Linked DNA regions of Homo sapiens: region 1 is linked to region 2. Evidence: promoter capture Hi-C in 16 types of primary human blood cells and fetal thymus (Javierre and others, 2016). All regions are on one chromosome and are shown on one strand. Each heading gives the region's core, a stretch centred on a gene start or on the middle of the fragment in contact. The rest is flanking DNA. Distances are from core to core; before and after follow the strand shown. Region 1 overlaps HIF1AN (hypoxia inducible factor 1 subunit alpha inhibitor). Region 2 holds the start of MRPL43 (mitochondrial ribosomal protein L43).

Region 1 (4,722 bases), core at 888-3,387, 440 kb before region 2:
GGAGGGCAGGCTGGGTTTCTCTTTAGCACTGGGTCCTGTATTCCAGCTTATGCAATAGAACCACTGCTCTGCATAAGAAAATGCCTTTCTTCTTACAGGAAATGTGACACCTGCTCACTATGATGAGCAGCAGAACTTTTTTGCTCAGATAAAAGGTTACAAACGATGCATCTTATTCCCTCCGGATCAGTTCGAGTGCCTCTACCCATACCCTGTTCATCACCCATGTGACAGACAGAGCCAGGTGAGCTTGTGTGGTCTGAGAAGGGTATAGAACTCTAGATTCTAGTAATGCCTAGGCTGGAATGTCTTTCCCCTTCCCCGTAGTGATATGCCAGGTTCGGATTACAGGCTGTTCTTGCCTTAACACACCAAGAGGGTAATTTCATTGTAGCTCACATATTCCAGGCTCCCTGGAGTGGCCACCAGATGTTTGTAAGTATAACTAGCCCCACAGAGCTAATTCTCAGGACAGACACTGTCATTGATGCTGATGGACTCTGGTTACTCTGTTTGATTGGCTTATAAGTTTATGGAACAAAATGTGTATGTCTCCATTGGATTTAATCATTGTTTGCTTTTGTCATGGATGCTATTTCTTTTTGATAAGAAGGGTGAATAAAACTGAGCTATGTTGTTTAATGTATTTCCTAGATCTAAATGAGGTATGTGGTTAACTGTGGCCAGCCAAAGATATCCTTTCCTTTCTTCAGAAAGCTGTCTAGCTACTTCATGTGGGAGTCTTTGCTGGTTAGAATATGTTTTTGGGAAAAGTTTCTGAAGGTTTAGGTGGAGGATAATTCCTAATTCCTCATATCCTCAGCTGTGGAGTAGGTCGTCTGACCTCAGGAGCACTGAAGCCTAGGATTCTTTATCACTTAACATTCAAATGTGGACTGTCTTATATTGTTCTCTCTCAGGGTTTAATGTGCATTATATCTTCTGCTGGATATAAATTCCAAATACTTTTTTTAAGGCATCGTTTTTTTTTTGTTTGTTTGTTTGTTTTTACTGCCAAACTGGCATATAGTAGTTTTACTGGTGAAGATTTGGTGATTGATATTTTTTTTCTTTCTCTTGAACCTCTTAGGTGGACTTTGACAATCCCGACTACGAGAGGTTCCCTAATTTCCAAAATGTGGTTGGTTACGAAACAGTGGTTGGCCCTGGTGATGTTCTTTACATCCCAATGTACTGGTGAGAAGGGGGCTAGGGCTGGGGGCTTTTTGGGAGCTTTCTTTTCCATTCCCTGGAAAGCCTTGTCTGTGTCGCTTCTGAGTTATGGCATGATTGGTTTTATGTGGTCTATAGGAAGGTTGGCATATCCAGACATGAGCGTACTGAACCTGTGGGGGATAGTGGCGGGAATGATAGCCCTGTCTCTAGGACAGGATGACGGTTCTTCAAGTCCAAAGAGATTCCGGAGGCTTGAGCCTAGAAAAACTGTTCTTGGCTCTTTGGTATTTCGAGACTGAACACCAGTACCTCTAACCCCCAAGTGTGTGTTTTTTTCACAGGATGAGTGTAAAGATATTGTCTTCACTATTTTCCGTAACTGGACTCCACCTAGTTTTTCAGCCCAACCCTGCCACCCCCCCGCACTTCGCCCCTCCGCCCCCGCCAAAAGTATCAGTAGTAAACAGGAGCCTGTTTGTTTTCTTGCAGGTGGCATCACATAGAGTCATTACTAAATGGGGGGATTACCATCACTGTGAACTTCTGGTATAAGGTGAATATGGTTTGCTTTTTTTGTTTTTTCCAGATGGAACTGGCTCTTGGGTGAGGTAGGTATAATAAATGATTTTGGATGGGATGGTTGACTATCCCTGGAAGTGATTGTCAGGTGTCTGGGGAGATGAAAGGGACAGGATTGAATTGGGTTTCTTTTTTTTAAATATATTTTTTGAGACAGAGTCTTGCTCTATTCCCCAGGCTGGAGTGCAGTGGCGTGATCTCGGCTCACTGCAACTTCTGCCTCCCGGGTTCAAGTGATTCTCCTGCCTCAGCCTCCCGAGTAGTTGGGATTATAGGCACACACCACCATGCCTGGCTAATTTTTGTATCTTTAGTAGAGATGGGGTTTCACCATGTTGGCCAGGCTGGTCTCAAACTCCTGACCTCAAGTGATCCACCCGCCTCGGCCTCCCAAAGTGCTGGGATTATAGGCCTGAGTCACCGTGCCCGGCAAGAATTGGGTTTCTTAGAAGGGAGGATGGTACTAAGAACAGTAGAGTGACACTGACGCCTGCTGCTAAAGGCATTTCCTGAGCTACTGCTTCCTTTGTAGGGGGCTCCCACCCCTAAGAGAATTGAATATCCTCTCAAAGCTCATCAGAAAGTGGCCATAATGAGAAACATTGAGAAGATGCTTGGAGAGGCCTTGGGGAACCCACAAGAGGTAGGTGACTGCCCCAAGGTGGCTCAGTGGGTGGGTTGACCAAGGAAAGTCAGGATCAGAGCGACATTCTTTACAGCTTCTGTGTTTCAGTGTCTGGTGTCCTCTCTCTCCATAGAGGTTATGGGTATGTTCAGAAAAATTCTTGTTTTCTGGTGATAGCTGGGCTTGACTGGCAGATCAATTATAATTAGTTCCATGCTAGTAGTAATGTTCCCCATGGGTATTATGTACCATCTGGGGACCCCCTGAGGGGATTCTTCTGGAACAGGAAGCGAGCACTAACACATCTCCTTGCACTTTCCCAGCTGTGCCAGGGCTGCTGTAGGTAATGTTGAGAGACCTGCTTCCCATGCAGGTGTGCCAGTGGCCCATTGGGTAAATGGGGGAGGTTTGTATTTGTAGGGTTCTTGCTTGCCTCTTGGAGGTAACCTCAGCATCCACAGACACCTGTGGTGTTGGGAGATAGCATCAGCCCCAGTTGCAGATGATCATTTTTTGAGGATATGGAGGCAGTTAACATTCTGGAGAAACATATAGACACTCTTGGGTGTTCGGGGATTATTAGCTTCTCTGACCATGTCTGTCCGTTTGGGGCAGATTACGGTAAGAGACGGTGTTGTGCGAGAGAAGAATAATAGTACAAGATGGACCCCTGAGGGAAAGACTATGTCCCAGAATACTGGGTTGACCTTCAGGAAGATAGGTGATTAGAGGATTCACAAGATTGTATGAAAACATTGTCTCTGTCCTTGGCTGGACATCTGATGTCTCCAGACACACCCTGTCCAATTCCAGGGCCAGGGAACAGCCAGTTCTGATTGGCTCCTCATGTTTCTTTACAGGTGGGGCCCTTGTTGAACACAATGATCAAGGGCCGATACAACTAGCCTGCCAGGGGTCAAGGCCTCCTGCCAGGTGACTGCTATCCCGTCCACACCGCTTCATTGATGAGGACAGGAGACTCCAAGCGCTAGTATTGCACGCTGCACTTAATGGACTGGACTCTTGCCATGGCCCAGGAGTCAGGTGTTTGGAGCGAGGCAGGGCAGTTGGCACTCCACTCCTATTTGGAGGGACTTCATACCCTTGCCTCTTGTGCCCCAGCACCTTCTCTCTCTGCCCCCCGCCTAAAGTCCTGCATTCAGTGTGTGGAGTCCCAGCTTTTGGTTGTCATCATGTCTGTGTGTATGTTAGTCTGTCAACTTCGGAATGTGTGCGTGTGTGTGCATGCACACGCATGTATGTATCTGTTCCCTGTTCCTTCTGGGTCAGGCTGTCACTTCCGGCTCTCAGCCCTATCTCCTGCAACCTCAGTGCCTCAGCCTGAGAGAGAGATGAGATGCTCTTGGACTCCCCACTGCATCTGGGCTGCAGGGCCAGAGCTAGTCTGACCATTAGGTCAGTCTGCCTCCTGACAGTTTTTGCGTAGTCAAGCTCTAGGCGGTATGGGAATGGCTACCGGGACTCTAATGGGGTGAAAGAGAGGGGAGGCTTGCCTTTGAGAGCCTATATAGCCTTCCTGTGAGAGAGGATTAGATAGGGTTCCAACTGGGCCTACAAGCTCAAGCCATACATAAAAGGACCTTGGGACATAAGAACCAATGATTGTGCATAAGTTCTAAATTAGAGACACATATAGTTTCTCTCTTTCAGCACCAGCTCTTGCCCCTATGCTGGGTACCAAGGGAGTTCTCCTAGCTGTGGCTTCTCTAGGTTCTAGGGGTGCAAGCCTCTGTGTGTTTGTTTGTGTGTGTCTGTGTGTGCGTATCCACACTAGGGGTGCAAGCCTCTGGGTGTGTGTGTGTGTGTGCGTGCGTGTGTGTGTGTGTGTCCGTGTGTGTGTGTGTGTGTGTCCACACTGGCCAGCCTCCCTACTTACCAAGGTTCTCCACTGCTTACCTTTTCCAGTGGGACAGTACAGTGTGAGCCCCCGGGAAGTACTGCCTGACCTATCCTAAGCTTTTACACTTGGATTTTAGCCATCATATGTTGGCCAGGTCTCACTGCAGCCTGCCCGAGGCTAACTGGCTAGAGCCTCCAGGCCCTATGATGCTCCCTGCCCAGGCCATATCCTTTATTCCTGCTGAGCTTCCTGGCTGAATAGATGAAATGGGGTCAAGCCCAGGCAGCTCATTCACTACCTGTGATCCACCTCAGGGCACGGGCAAACACATAGGCTTGCGTCTTAAAGCCAGCTCCTCTGCCAGACCCCGTTGTAATGTGCCACAACACCCTCAATAGTCAGGGCAACTGGTGGAGCATGGAAGTCGAATTTCCTTTTCTGTTAGGAGCTACTCCTGGGAACCCCTCTCAGGGCTGCAGCT
Region 2 (4,823 bases), core at 2,065-4,564:
CTGGGCCACTGCCTCCCTAACACAGCCACCCTCCCTTCATTACCCCCACTCCATACCCTTCTCCCAACTTTTTGATGTCCCTGTAGGGCTGGCCAGTCAGGCCCAGCCAAAGCCCCCTCCTCAGTCTCCACAGACCCACATGTGAGCAGCCCAGGCCCATCGGTGCTCCTCAGAGGTAGGTGCTCCCTCAGGATCAGGTGCCCTGCAGACCCAGAGCCAGTTCCTATCCCCTAACCTAAACACTTATAGGTGAGGACTCCATCCTCCTGTTCCATTCATCTGCCCAAACCCTTTCTCTTTCTCCCAGGCAGGGCTCTGCAGGTCCATATGGGCTCAATGTCACCACCCTCTGCATGGCCCTGTGTGCTGGATGGTCCTGAAACCAGACAAGACCTCTGCCAGCCACCTAAGCCCTGCGTACATTCACATGCACACATGGAAGAATGTTTATCGGCTGGGCTGCAGTGCCCCCACCCTCACCTTCTCCTGGTGCATTCTTGTTTCATCCCTGCTTCTGGACTTGGGGTACCCTCCCAATTGCCACATCCTATCTGGTCCTCTTCCCCAGCCCCATGTGGTGACCTCTTTGTCAAGAGCTTGGGAACGGGCCAGCCTGGGGAGGTAAGACTGCATCACTCCCCTCCTCTCCCTTCCTGTGTGGCCCTTGTGAATCAGCCTCCCCACTCTCCTTGGTCATTCTCAAGAGTATGAGAGACAGAGCTCCAGGCATGTCCCATCCCCATGCACATGTGGTAACACACACCTGTATCACACATGTGCTTACATTTCCACTCACATGCACCTCTGAGCCTCCCTTGCTGTCTTGGACCTGTCTGTTGGGTTTAGTCCGTGGACATTTCAGAGGGAGATCCCCCTCCCATTTAACTGTCCTCACAGGCCCTTGCCTAGGATGGATGACCAACACTGCACTCAATGAGCCAGCCTCTCTTTTGGGGGAATCAAGCATTTGCTTCCTCTAGACTACAGCAGGGAAAGGGAGGAGAAATCTGATGTCTCAACTGGCACATGAAGCCCATTCTTGGAACTATGCAAAGGGCAGAGGCTGGGAGTTTGGACGCTTAGCTCCTACCCCTGTCCTACCTCACCGGGGCACTTTCAGGGGCCAGGGGCCTCTGAAGTCTCTAGGCCTATATGGGACAATCAATTCTGACTGAGCTCCCCCATTCCCCTCGGGTGAGGATGACTGTTATTTTTGTAGCTGAGAACGTGGAATCCCACGGGTTTTTACTGCCCTTCACCCAACCTCTCCCACCTCCACCCCACAATGAATGTATTTATTGTGAGAATGGCTACACTTCTTTAGGAATGCCCCCACTTACAACCAGGTGGGTGGAACAGGCATGTGACAGAGTGGGGAGCCTGGGCTCAGCTCCTCCCCCTGCCGTTGGTTAATAAACACCCTTTTTCCCCACAGCTATGACTAGTCTGCTTCATCTAGATGCGCCCACCCCTGATCACCAGGGGACAGGCTCCTGAGCCTATACAGAAGGTGATATCTGCCTCCAGGATTGGCTCTGCTCCCCAATACAACTATTTGCAGAGGAAATTGGGATCCTCCGCTTCCATCCTGACTCCTTGGCAGGCACACAGGCCTCTTTAGTAAGGTTCACACTATTCATTGATCATGGTGTTAGGGCATGACAAGAAAATGACAACAGTTCAAGAATTCTTACAGGGGTTTCTAGATTTTCATTTCCTGCCTCTCATTTCCCCACCATCCCCCCTTTTTAAACTAAGATTAGAAAATACTCATTAATATCAGCCTTCCTGCCCTTCCCCAAGGTTCTCAGCACCCCCCACCAGCTGGCTCAAGGGACATGGATTTTATTTCTGCACAAAGAGGGACGTGGGGGGAAGGAGATGTATAGCTAAGACCAGAGAAAGCTTGTCAGCCAGGACTTGGTCTGAGAATCACTCCCCTCTCCCTTTCAGGGGTCAGGCCTAGATTAATCACTTGGCCTTTGATACTAACCACCTGACAGTTGTTATATGTTCTGCGTCTAGTTTTAAAATAATGAAAACTGAGGCTTGTGCTTAACATATGCACACATTTTGAAGACAGACCTGAAATGTGACCTTGGATAAGTTTATTAACCTGTTTTATAAATCTGTATTCACACAGATATAAAGTGCCTAGCCCATCACAGCAGAGCTCTCCGTAGCTCAGTGGTTGTTCCAATAAGACATCAGGGATTCTTCAGAAGCCAGCCTTCAGACCTCTCACTGTGTTTTGAGATCATTATTATCAATTTGGATTTAAAAAACAAGGGCCCTGTAAAACCCTTGAAGTCTTCCTCATCTCAGGTTTTAGGGATGCCACTTGCATAAAAATGAGTGGTTCACAAGGTCACTGCCCCCAGAAGCAGGCACTGGAAAGAAACAGGCAGCTCTTCATTATCCCAAGCAGAACCTCTGTCAACTTGCCCATTGATGGGTTCCATTTGCCTGGGCTTGGAATCCCAAAGGGGAAGAACCACCTTTACCGGAGTAACAGTCCAAAGCCTGGGGCTGCAGTTGGTGGGGCAACTCTTCACTGTGCTTGCACCTGGGCTGGGGCAGGATCCTGAACCTCTCGGGGGCGTAGCCCGCGGAACGTGGTCGGCTTGTTGGTGAAGGGGTGCCACTGGCCCTGGATGCTAGGGTTGTCGGTGTGGAAGGGCTTGCGGATGCGGATCACGTCCAAGCCCGACTGGTCGGCCAGCTTCTGCACCAGCGTCGAGATCTCCTCGACCGACTTGCAGTGGATGCTCTCCTCGCGCACAGCCCCGTTAACTGGCAGAAGAGGGGTGAGAGTGGGTGGAAGCTGGCCGGTGCGACCAAGCGAGAAGGAGGATAGCGGGTCGAGCCCCTGATCCCGCCCTCCAGCCCGAGCCCGGCCCCACTCACGGTATTCGGCCACTACTCTGGGCACGCAGCACGGACGCGAGTTTACATATATTACGACCCCTGGATTCCGTCGGGCGAAGTCGATCACCTCCCGCTCCACGAACTCCCTAAGCGACCCGGGACAGTGAGCAGTATGACCCCTGACTGGGGGCGACCTACCCGGGGAGTCGTTGCCACCTCCACACCCACCCCGACCCGCGCCTGCGCACTTCCCTTGGCTCACCTGGCGCCGCGAGACGAGGCGCCGTCGCGGCTGACGCTGAAGCTCAGACGCTGCAGCTGCTGCACATAGCGACCCAGTCCGTTGTGGAGAACGCTGGCCAAGAAGCGGCTCGGAGTCCCGCGCGCCGTCATAGCTACAGCTTGGAGGCCGCGGAGCCTAAGCAGCGAGGAGAGGGGGGCGGGACTAAACCTCGAGGCTTCCGGTTCCGGGACGACCGCTCCCGGAGTTTTGCTTCCGAGGTCAAGGCGAGTAGCATGTGCGGGAGACTCACGTTGCCGGCGAAGTGGGAGAGAGAAAAGTGGTAACCTGGGGCTGGGGGCCGGCGCGGCGGAGCTCGGAGTAGTAGAGCGGAGTGAAGACACGGGGGAGGATAGAGACTGGCATTCCTTTGGGCCGGGGGATTGGCGGGAGTCGTGCTGGGTGCTCTCGCCGTGTTGAGGTCCCAGTGAGGGGAAGGAGAAGCGGAAGAGGGTCTCTAGTCGGGGCCTAGGGCAAAGGGACTACAAAAAGGATGCAGATGACTATAGAAATGAGGACGACGAGGAGATGCTGTGGAGGAGCAGTAGAGGTGAGAAGATGATGCAAAGAAACTGTGTCAGTGAGGAACTGTATAGAGGGTCATAGAGGTGAGGTGGCGGAGAGAAACTAACTAACGGACCATAGAGGTGGGGGAGCCATTGTAGAAGGACGTGGACGCGAAAGGGTCGTGTAGATGGGCATATGTGTGAAGCAGCAACGTAGAGGGGCTGAAGAGGAGAAATTCATGGAGAGAAAGAATGCACCTAGAGTGAGCTCTGCAGAGTGCTGCGTGGGATATCCCTAGAGTTTGGTCTAGTGAAGGCACGCTAACCAGGCACCTAAGGCATTTCAAGTAGTGACTTCCCACATTTGGCTAGGAATGTGGGTCCTCCTCCGAAGTGGGTACCCCCTCCGTATCTTGTTACCCCTGCGTGGGGAGTGGATGGGTCGGAGGGGCCTGCCCCGAAACTTGGCCCCAGGCCCTCCTCGCAGACGTTACAGGAAGGAGACTCTCCAAGCCTTGGATATGCCAGTGTTGCCTGTAACTGCAACTGAAATCCGCCAGTATTTGCGGGGGCATGGGATCCCCTTCCAGGATGGTCACAGTTGCCTGCGGGCACTGAGCCCCTTTGCAGAGTCTTCACAGCTCAAAGGCCAGACTGGTGTTACCACTTCCTTCAGCCTCTTCATTGACAAGACCACAGGCCACTTTCTCTGCATGACCAGCCTAGCAGAAGGGAGCTGGGAAGACTTCCAGGCCAGCGTGGAGGGGCGAGGGGATGGGGCCAGGGAGGGGTTTCTGCTTAGCAAGGCACCAGAATTTGAGGACAGCGAGGAGGTCCGGAGGATCTGGAACCGAGCAATACCTCTCTGGGAGCTGCCTGATCAGGAGGAGGTTCAGCTGGCTGATACAATGTTTGGCCTTACCAAGGTTACAGATGACACACTCAAGCGTTTCAGTGTGCGATATCTGCGACCTGCTCGCAGTCTTGTCTTCCCTTGGTTCTCCCCTGGGGGCTCAGGATTACGAGGCCTGAAGCTCCTAGAGGCTAAATGCCAGGGGGATGGAGTGAGCTACGAGGAAACCACTATTCCCCGACCCAGCGCCTACCACAATCTGTTTGGATTACCACTGATTAGTCGTCGAGATGCTGAGGTGGTACTGACGAGTCGT

Evidence for each region. Contacts are between HindIII fragments. The CHiCAGO score rates a contact against its expected background, and 5 or more counts as called.
Region 1: a contact is called between a fragment that was not itself captured here and the fragment with the promoter of MRPL43 in region 2, in 2 of 17 cell types (M0 macrophages and naive CD4 T cells). The highest score is 5.5, in M0 macrophages.

What each region holds. Positions count from the first base shown.
Region 1 is chr10:100,544,853-100,549,574 of GRCh38, forward strand. HIF1AN (hypoxia inducible factor 1 subunit alpha inhibitor) reads left to right here. Exons shown (of 8, transcript NM_017902.3): 4 at 99-244; 5 at 1,091-1,197; 6 at 1,666-1,729; 7 at 2,288-2,398; 8 at 3,241-4,722. The coding sequence ends at 3,285. Among named protein-coding and RNA genes, the nearest start is that of HIF1AN, 11 kb to the left of the region's middle. The HindIII fragment of the contact is 4,435 bases long and covers 1-4,355 here.
Region 2 is chr10:100,984,183-100,989,005 of GRCh38, forward strand. MRPL43 (mitochondrial ribosomal protein L43) reads right to left here and starts at 3,315. Exons shown (of 3, transcript NM_032112.3): 1 at 3,131-3,315; 2 at 2,908-3,014; 3 at 2,087-2,793. The coding sequence starts at 3,261. The coding sequence ends at 2,552. It overlaps TWNK (twinkle mtDNA helicase), which reads left to right and starts at 3,361. Exons shown (of 5, transcript NM_021830.5): 1 at 3,361-4,823. The coding sequence starts at 4,029. SEMA4G (semaphorin 4G) reads left to right here. Exons shown (of 15, transcript NM_017893.4): 15 at 1-1,434. RefSeq lists an enhancer at 3,074-3,143. The HindIII fragment of the contact is 4,949 bases long and covers 1,904-4,823 here.